3 separate regions of the Homo sapiens genome follow, and all the other regions are linked to region 3. Evidence: promoter capture Hi-C in 16 types of primary human blood cells and fetal thymus (Javierre and others, 2016). All regions are on one chromosome and are shown on one strand. Each heading gives the region's core, a stretch centred on a gene start or on the middle of the fragment in contact. The rest is flanking DNA. Distances are from core to core; before and after follow the strand shown.

What was found. Contacts are between HindIII fragments. The CHiCAGO score rates a contact against its expected background, and 5 or more counts as called.
Region 1: a fragment that was not itself captured here is called in contact with the fragment with the promoter of IRS4 in region 3 in 2 of 17 cell types (endothelial precursors and M2 macrophages); the score reaches 6.6 in endothelial precursors.
Region 2: a contact is called between a fragment that was not itself captured here and the fragment with the promoter of IRS4 in region 3, in 1 of 17 cell types (M2 macrophages). The highest score is 5.9, in M2 macrophages.

The regions. Positions count from the first base shown.
Region 1 is chrX:109,376,123-109,379,360 of GRCh38, reverse strand. It overlaps GUCY2F (guanylate cyclase 2F, retinal), which reads left to right. Exons shown (of 20, transcript NM_001522.3): 18 at 3,194-3,238. Among named protein-coding and RNA genes, the nearest start is that of GUCY2F, 100 kb to the left of the region's middle. The HindIII fragment of the contact is 354 bases long and covers 1,481-1,834 here.
Region 2 is chrX:109,398,813-109,402,240 of GRCh38, reverse strand. The region is part of intron 10 of GUCY2F (guanylate cyclase 2F, retinal); the gene reads left to right. Among named protein-coding and RNA genes, the nearest start is that of GUCY2F, 82 kb to the left of the region's middle. The HindIII fragment of the contact is 7,530 bases long and covers 1-3,428 here.
Region 3 is chrX:108,735,313-108,738,650 of GRCh38, reverse strand. It overlaps IRS4 (insulin receptor substrate 4), which reads left to right and starts at 2,088. Exons shown (of 2, transcript NM_001379150.1): 1 at 2,088-3,338. The coding sequence starts at 2,307. It overlaps IRS4-AS1 (IRS4 antisense RNA 1), which reads right to left and starts at 2,111. Exons shown (of 3, transcript NR_110652.1): 1 at 2,060-2,111; 2 at 772-1,386; 3 at 1-222. The HindIII fragment of the contact is 14,686 bases long and covers 1-3,338 here.

The DNA of each region.
Region 1 (3,238 bases), core at 408-2,907, 640 kb before region 3:
TCGTTTAGTGATTTTGAAATGTACAGCATTATTAACTATATTCACCATGATATGCAATAGAGCTGAAAAAATCACACATATTCTTCCTCACTGAACAGATTTTGTGTTCTTACACCATCATCTGTTCATTTCACCCACCTTTGGCTTCTGTAACCACCATTCTACTCTCTGCTTCTATTAATTCAATTGTTTTAGATTCCAAATATAAGTGAAAACATGCAGTATTTGCCTTTCTGTGCCTGGCTTATTTCACTTAGCAAATATTCTTCAATTCCATTCATGTTGTCACAAGTGATAGAATTTCTTTCTTTTTAAAGGATGAATAGTATTCCATTGTATGTATACACTAAATTTTTTTTATCCATTCATCTGTTGATAAACAGGTTAATTCCATAACTTGGCTAATGTGCCTAGTGCTGCAATGAACATGGGAGTGCAGATATCTTTTTGACAGACTGATTCCAATATTTTGAGTAAATACCCAGAAGTGGAATTGCTAGATCATATGGTAATTCTACTTTAACTTTTTGGAGGAATCTTCATGCTGTTTTCCATAATGGCTGTACTAATTTACATTCTAGAAGTGGGCACTTTCTGAACTTGTCTTTGAATTCTGGGGTTAAACAGTATTTGGTTCTCAGGTTCCTAAGTATTAGTATTTGTTTTATTTTCCCCAGTCTTTCCCACTCATATCCCAACCCCAGCATACACACACAAGCAGTGTGTGTATGAGCATGTCTATGAGCACACACATGCACACAGACAGGCAATTAAGAAATAGTGAGATTGTACTGACAGATCCATGAAGGTCAGAAAGTTTTGCCTCAAATTCTTGCCCCATCACTGACTTAATGTCTGACATCAGACAAGTAATTTCACCCTCTCTCTGTGCTTTCGTTTGTCCACATAGAGGCCTCATCTGACTTGTGGTTATCAGGAAGCTCATTAATCTCACAAGCTTCAAATTTCCCAATAGTTGCTTTTTGGCCTCTAGATCTGCCTTTTGACTCCAGTGTGTTGGAGAAGCTTTGTGGTATGGAAGGAAGAGCATTTAAAATTTGGTGTCTAGTAGAGCTGGTTTCAAGTCCCAGCTGTGCCTATTTATTGACAAGTCATTTAATCTCCAGGAATCTCAGTGTCCCCATTCGCAGAATGAGATTAATAATTAACCTACATTCCAGATTTTTGTGAGGATTAAATAAGATAGGAGATACCAAAATGTCTCATAAGCATCATGCCAAAGTAAGATGCTCTTATATGGGGGATCTCTAGGACTGCTTGGGGATTGATATTGGGTCAAAGAGTTTGGTTCAGGCTTTAGTTGTTGCCATACTTGTTTTCTCTCTTTTTCTCCCTTTAGCAAAATTGTGGAAGTCAGGTAGGTAAACAGAGAACTGGGATTCTAAGAATTCTTTTGGATGGACTCCAAAACCTCAGAGAGCCCCTGGAGCTCCCCTGCATACTCTTTGATTTGGAAGCTTGCCTGAGTCCATAACACTTCTATCCTCTTTTGCAACCATTAGTTTTGGCATCCCAGTGTGTCCTAAGACCCACCCAAATCTTTGGACAATCCCTCTACAAAGCTCCCTTGGGGATTGGCATGCTGTTCTGTTAGCCTCTAGATCTCAAGACAAACAGTCAAATATGGCTGAGGGTGGGGGGCCCTTGAGTTTGAACTTTAATAGCATGTTTTTCCAAAATAAGATCCAGTGGTGTCTTGAGTATTCCAAGTGCACAAGGGCTGAGAGTTTCAATTAATGAAACAGTCTGATTATTTACTGGGCAACTGTCTGTATAAGACACTACACTAGGTACTGTGTAAAAAGAAAAAGCTTTGGAATCAGAGGAGTTGGGCTTCATGTGTTTAGAACCTATAACATGGCCTAATGGTTGTGTTTAACTGTACTGTGAGTTCCTTAAGGATGGAACCATCTCTGTATTCCCAGCCCTAGTACAGGAGGAGTGGAATAAATGAAAGAATGAGTGATGGAATATATTTTCAAGTTGCTTACCTCTTCTGAAAACAGAGTGGGCTCAAATAGTCCAATTATTTGAACTATTTGAGGCTTAGGGAGAGTCTGATGCCAGTTAATGGAGGTTGGACTATAGTGGTATGCTCTTTCTACTTGCCTCATAGAAGGCTTGTTCAAGCCTTGAATCAAATATTTGCAAAATGCTTTGAGATTCTCCAATTAAATGTGCTAATTATTATGGTTTTTGTCATTATTGTTAAGGGATAAATATATGTGATATAAAATAGGGAACAGTGGACTTGATATTTAAAGGGGTAAATCTAATTGGAATTTCTAAGTTAAACAATTCAGAACTGCTCCAAATGAGAGCTGCTGTGAGTGAGACCATATTTCAGATTAATGAGTTGGAAACACATCCCATTACTTTTCTCAGTCTTGGTAAACACATTTTTTTCTTATGGATTAGAGGAAATGAGAGAACAGATGAAAGAGAATTGAAAGGAGGAGAGAGAAGCACATTGAGAGGAAAGTTTACTGGAAAGAGAGAAAGGCAGAACAGAGGCAGAAAATTTGACTCCTCTGAGGTCATCACTCAGGCCCTGGGGTGACTAGCTTGAGTTTACACTCCTTTTCTCTTCTGAGACTTGTGGTTCTTGACAACCAAGTAACTGACCTATAGATGGAGGCCAACCTGGAGTCTTACCCTACCTGTAAGAGTCCCTTGGCTGGAAGAAAAGAACACTGCACAAATGTAGACCTCTCAAAATAGCCAGGATAATTTAGGCTTAAAATTTAACAGCCTGTTTTCCATTTCTACTCTCTTTTTGGGTTTGGTGAGAGCCATTGAATGAGACGGTAAGCGGGTAGGTAGAATCTGAATATATGTACTCTAGATACAGAAGACAATGGCTTACCTAATGCCAAAAGATCAGGGCACAAATGATAAGCAAAATCTTCAACTGAGCATCCAGACATTTGGTTGCTGTCAAGCCAAACATCCACACATTCCCAATGATGAAGCTGTATGGTGGCGGTAGACAAAACATCTGGATGACAGCTTGATATAGTGTTCACTTTTCATCTGGCTGCTCTGGCTCAGCCCCGTAGGGAGGAAGACTCCAGGGAGTGGTGAGGCAATTTCTGAGCCAACCTGAATGCTTATATTCTTTTGGAAAATTGATTATAGCAGGCTTAAGATTTTTTATGTTTTCTATAATAAGGGCAAAGGCACAGAGGAAACCTTCTGGCTGATTGGGAAAAAAGGC
Region 2 (3,428 bases), core at 612-3,111, 660 kb before region 3:
GTCTGTCTGTCTCCTCTGTCTCTGTCTCTGTCTCTCCCTCTTATCATATTACTCCATTCTCCAAATTGCAGTGGCAGTATGGATGGTCAGTCCATTCTTCACACACTGCAGCCAGAAGGAGCTTTCTAAACTGCAAATCTGATCATGTTACAGCTGTGCCTAAATCTATCGAATGGCTTCCCATTGCTCTAAGGATAAAGATCAAATTCCTTTACATGGCTTACGAGCTGAGCCCTGCATGGCCTGGAACTTGCTGACCTCTCATGCTAACCACTACCCCCCTGCTTTATGCTCTGGCCATGCTGAACTGCTTCTAGTTGTTTATTTACATTACACCAGGCTGTCTCTTACTACTAAATCTCCACACAAGCTGTGTCTTCTGCCTGGGACACTCTTCTCTTCCCACTCTTTCATATACTCATCTGGGTCTGGCTAAATTCTATTTCTTCAGGGTTCAACTTAAGTACCACTGCCTCAAGAGGCTTTCCATGACCCCTATGCTGGGCTAGGTTGCCCTCTTTATAATCCTTCAGGGCCCTGAACTTTGTTGTGATACCATAGTTCATTAGCATTACTCATTCAATTAACCTTGTCTCCCCCCACCCAAACTACAAGCTCTGTGGGGGCAGGAAACAGGTTTGCCTTTCTCAGTGCCTTTCACAGTTCCTGACAGAATATTTGTTGAATCAACAAAAGAACAAAATAAAATGAAATAAAGGAACTTGTCTCCCTACCTTAGATATGAGGCTAAATGAATCTCATAATTGAAAGGCCATTGGATGTCATCTGACCCAACTTCCATTTTATAGATAGGGAAGCCAAGGTTCAGAAAGGTAGCTACTTGGTGACCAAGCTAAGATTTTGAACCCGGGTCTCTAGACTTCCAGTTCTGTGTTCTTTTATACTATACCACAGTAGCTCTCCAAAGTCAATTCTATCACCCTAGCAAAGCTCAGAGTTAATAGTGGCTCCAGCAGATAAAAAACAAACCAAAGTAATTTCTCTAGTTTTCCCGAGAGTTCAACTCTAATGGTAGTTAGTGGCTCTTACTTGGTTCTGGAGTGGAGATGAGGAAATGGGGGCGGATTGTAAATGTATTCATTACTGTCCACTCTCGATTATATAAGTATAGTGCAGAAAAGCCTCATTATAGCCATTAACAACATACATGTAAGTGCTCTTTGGAAATACTATTTTGTAATGATTGTATTTAATCACCCAGCTTTTACCAGAGAGTTTTGCCCTCTTTTTCCATCTTGTGCTTTTAAATGTGCAGGGAGAAAGGATGCCAAAAAGAAGCAGCCACATGCCATTTTTCCTGCTCTCAAATATTCATCCTTGCACTCCTCTCCAAAACCATGGTGCCTAAAATCCCGCAACTATAAATGTATTCCTTTGACATTCAATCATTCAAGTATCATTCATTGTTTTCCGTTTGATTTGTAAATATAAATCTTCCTAGGCAGGGAGACATAGGGGCAAAATCACTATAGTGAGTGTTTTGGAGACTTTCATGGGTGTGAGTGAGTGGTGGATGGTGGGTGGAAGCTCAGAGGGGTCTGGTTGGGGGACAAAGCCTGGGGACACTTAAAGAGCAAAGAGAGAAGATGGGTACATGATTGGTGGTGAAACTGGAATTTCTTATTTCACCATTTTGATCAGGATTGGCTGAAAATAAGAATTTCCATGGTGGATTTCTCTTTCCTGGGTTTTGCTAACAAACCAAAATAATCTCTCACCTTTCACCCTTCTTCCTATTTCATAGGACTTTGTTTCTTGGACTCTCTTCCCAATACCCAAAATTTAACAAGATGAAAAGTTAGCCATTACTTTCTCCCTGATACCCTCACTCTTAGCAGACATTTGTCTCCAACCTCACTATCTGGATGTCACCTTGTTGTTTACTCCAACTCCCTCTCATTCTCAAGGCACAGGGAGCCTATCCTTAGCCCTGTCACTTCCTTCTCCATTGTAGCCTTCCAGTGTATCTGGTTGACTGTGTTGCTGCTACTACCCCCACCCCCATTTAGGCCCCTCTCACCTCACTACCTGCTCTTACTGCAATAACTTCCTAGCTGATCTCCCTGATTCCAGCCTCTCTCCTTCAATCCAGCTTGTGCAGGTTGCCAGATTAATCTTCCCAAACAGGGCTTTCATCAAATCCCTCTCCAGCTCCAGCACCCCTACTGCCTTTTGTATTCACTCCAAATGCCTTCATTTGGCTCTCAGGGCCTCTCACCTTCTGCCCCCATTCTTCCAGACACCCGCCCTCCCCCACTTCATCAACCCCACTTCTCATTTCTCATTATTCCTTAACAGAGCCCTTCTCTTCAGTCAAGCTAATCTGCTTACCACCACCCGGCATCCCCCCACCCGCAATTTGCTCCTTTCTGCCTCTTGTTCTTTTGCACATGCTGTTCTTTCTAGGGAGAAAAAAGCCCTTACCTTCTCAGCTCCAGAAAGTTGCATCCTTGACCTTCCTAACAAGCACATTTAAAATTTAACTTTTCCAGGAAGTCTTCCTGGATTAATTTGATCAGCTCAGTTTTTTTTTTAGTTTGAACCTGATGAAATTGCCAATATCTAACTGTTTTTGATTCACAGAAATGGTAACTTTATATAATTCAATCTAAAACACTCTTCTTCCAGCTTTTGAGTACTGTATTTCTATTGTTAAATTATATTTCTTTATACATTGCTTACAGTGCCCCCCACCCAAGAAAAATTTCTGACATTCTCACTGCCATAAACTCTGAATGCAGAAATAATGTTTTGTCCCTGACGGGGCCTGAAATGCAGCAGAGCACACAATGGGTGTTTAACTTTGACCTTTAATGGATTCATTTCCCTTTACTATGTAGTGGCCCTCATCATTCCCTCTCTTTTATTGCAGTTAGGGGTGCATATGTCTGTGTTTCCGACTGGTCTGTGAACTCCTCAAGTTTGATTCATCTCTAGCACCACCTCTGTGCCTAGCACAGGGCATGGTACATAGTAGACCATCAATAAATATTTGCAGAACTGAGTTGAAGGAATTGTTGCACCTTTTTGCACTGCAAGGAATAGGAAGGCTGGGGTAACTCTAATCCTTTTAGAGGAGACCTGGAGAAAGCAACTTGTGAATCTCTTAGCCCCAGCACAATCAAATTACCAGACACATATAGATCTCAGCAAACAGCAAATCCATGGCAACCAGTGTGGTAGCACACTTGCCTTTCCCTGGAAACCTGCCAACTGCTACTTGCAGGCTCAAGAAAGCAAGCACCAGAGAATTTCTATACTTTGAGCTTCTGTGCCCTTTCCCACATCGCTGCTGTGTCTGCCTGCGTGGTCCTGGGGTGGAGAGAGTAGTATGTTTTCTCTGTTCATAATTCCTTAGAAGAATAGATTCAGACCCTGGGGGATGGGGGGCACTAGCATGGCAGTCT
Region 3 (3,338 bases), core at 839-3,338:
GAAAAAAACCTTGTGCTTGGAAAGACTTATAAAATATCCTAATGACTATCAAACAAAATCCCAAATGAGAGCATTTGTTATCATTTTGGTTGTAAGTGCAGGGAATCTTGTATATATGTGACTACGCAGCTGAAATATGTAGCAGTCACAGTCAGGGATCTCTCAGCATCCACACTCGTTCTGCCTCTAGCTCCCTTCCGAAACCACGGCTGCTTCCAGCACCTGTGAATATATTGCACTTATAAACCATTGGCAGCAGAGGGAATGTTATTGAATATTTGTAATATCTGGGGGACAACCCAAACCAATTTCTTTTTCTCTTAAATTATAGCATCAAAAAGGAGCCATTTATTCAAATACGTGTGTTCTGTTTCTAACAGAGCAAATTCTTAAGAGGGCAGAAATATGGTTTATTTTTATGATATACATATTGCCTAGTTTACTGTTGGATTTTATAAATAGTACCCTTTGCCATATCAACCCTAGAGCAAGGGTGAACTGACATTCCATTCTTTCAGAGAGAAATGCTGTATTTCTCTCCTCCTCTCCCTCCATTCCTCTTTGCAAACCTGGTCACTCCTTTGATAATTCACGACCCATCTCCACCATTAAGAGTCTAAAATCCTAGTCAAGTAATAACTGGGGTGGTGGGGGAGAGAGGGAGAGGGAGAGGGAAAGGGAGAAGGAGAGGGAGAGAGAGAGAGAGACTTGAGGAGGTTGCACTTACACTCCGGCAGTTTTTCCAGAAATGAGGGAGGCAGTAGTTCTTACTTTTGTGATGTCAACTTGTAGACTGAAATGCATCAAAGCTCCTCTTCTTCTTCTTGTTGACGCGAGGGATGTGAAATGTGCTCTAGAATATGCATTCAGCGTGGTCCTTTGTTCTAGGTATGAGCTTTTCTTTTTCTAAAGTTTTTCGGTCTCGCTCAAGGAAAGGAAAGCAATATTTTGAGATTCTTTTAAAGGCACCTTCCAAAGCATTTCCCACAGAAAAATACCTTCACAGCCCAACACTGGTTATTTCAGTAAGAATCGAGTCCAATTTTTTCCAATATGGCTGTATACATTGCAGGCCCCCAAATTTGTGCTTTCATAGTCATCGTTAATCAAATAGGCAGAAACACTGTATTTAGGGAACCTGTGTTTCGTGGGCTAGAAGTGCATTCTGATTAATAAAGATCATGTTCATTTTGAATGCATCGCTGTTATTCGTGTGCCTCAGAGTCGCGGGCTTCTGTCAGGGGTGCAGCGGGCTCGGGAGTGCCTGCAGAGCGGTGGGAAGCAGTTCTGAGCGCCCTGGTCGTCAACCCGTTTTCAGGGGGTGCCGACACTTTCTCCCAAGAAGCTCGATCCGCCGCCTTGTGCGGCTGGAAAGAATGAACCAGACTGTGACAGGAACAGAGAATTTATGTGATTGACAGGGAGTACCAGGGCACCCGACTCCATCCCGGGTCACCACGGCTCTGGGATTTGCACGAGTTTACCACCACCATTAACAGCTATTTGCGTAAGGTTGTTTACCGCCTGAGAGCGCCACAAGCCGACAGCGAAGCCACTTTGGGACCCCAGCCACGCCCCCTCTCCCCTCTCCCCTCTCACCCCTCCCTCCCGCCAAACTAATGATTTCGGGGCTGCCTTCTTGCCGGACCCTCCCATTGGCTCCTATCCCAACCAATCAGAGCCTTGCAACAGTTTCACCTGGCTCCCGCTTCCCAAATAAACAAACAAACTGTCCCGCGACTGTGCCCGCTCTGCACCCTGGCGCCGCAGGCAGGCACTGCTTGCGCTACGCCCCCTCCCACCACCTCCCACCAATGGGGCCCCGACTGTGGCGCCCTCTCCCGACCCTGATAGCCGGCCGCTTTCTCCTCCGCCCCTCCAGGCCTTCTCCCGCCCCCTCATGCCTTCCTGGACTCCCTGTTAGAATCAGCTTGGCCAGAGAGCCCGCCTCCTCCTCTCGGTCCTCCCTTGGCCCACAGGCCTGGAGATTGACCGGGAGGATTTGGCACAGCCGGAGGTGGCTCCGCCTCCCGAGCCCGCCGTCTCCTCCCTTGCTCACCTCTACTGGTGGCCGCTCGCGCCCCTCCATTGCGCCGGTAGCAGGATCCGCAGCGGCCGCCGCGTGAGGCTGTGGTCACGTGTTGTTTTGCCCGCTGTCGTGCGCTCAGAGTGGAGTGGGCGGGGGCGCGGGCCAAGGCAGGAGGGGGCTGGGGCGGGCAGACGAGGGTAGACAGCCTCTTCCCCCAACCCTCCCTTTCCTGAATTCCCCCTCCTCCTCGCTCACCTTAAAACCATCGTGCATCACCATGGCGAGTTGCTCCTTCACTCGCGACCAAGCGACAAGAAGACTAAGAGGTGCAGCAGCGGCGGCAGCGGCAGCTCTAGCAGCAGTGGTGACCACCCCGCTTCTTTCCTCGGGAACCCCGACCGCACTCATTGGGACCGGGTCGTCTTGTCCGGGAGCCATGTGGCTCTCCACGGCCACTGGCTCCCGGTCAGACTCCGAGTCCGAAGAGGAGGACCTGCCCGTCGGGGAGGAAGTCTGCAAACGCGGCTACCTGCGGAAACAGAAGCATGGGCACAGGCGCTACTTCGTGCTCAAACTCGAGACTGCTGACGCCCCAGCTCGGCTGGAATACTACGAAAATGCCAGGAAGTTCCGGCACAGTGTCCGCGCCGCGGCGGCTGCAGCAGCGGCGGCCGCCTCTGGCGCCGCGATCCCCCCGCTCATTCCACCGCGGCGCGTGATCACCCTATACCAGTGCTTTTCCGTGAGCCAGCGAGCAGATGCAAGGTACCGACACCTCATTGCTCTTTTCACCCAAGACGAATACTTCGCGATGGTGGCCGAGAACGAGTCGGAGCAGGAAAGCTGGTACTTGCTGCTCAGCCGCCTCATCCTCGAGAGCAAGCGCCGCCGCTGCGGCACGCTCGGCGCGCAGCCGGACGGAGAGCCGGCCGCGCTGGCGGCGGCAGCGGCGGCGGAGCCACCCTTCTATAAAGATGTGTGGCAGGTAATAGTCAAACCCAGGGGGCTGGGGCACAGAAAAGAGCTGAGCGGCGTGTTCCGGCTGTGTCTAACCGACGAGGAGGTCGTGTTTGTGAGGCTGAACACCGAAGTGGCCAGCGTGGTCGTCCAGCTCCTGAGCATCCGTCGCTGTGGACACTCGGAGCAGTATTTCTTCTTGGAAGTAGGCAGGTCCACTGTCATCGGTCCGGGAGAGCTCTGGATGCAGGTCGATGACTGTGTGGTTGCCCAAAACATGCATGAGCTGTTTTTGGAGAAGATGAGAGCCTTGTGTGCAGACGAATACAGAGCCCGCTGCCGCAGCTACAGC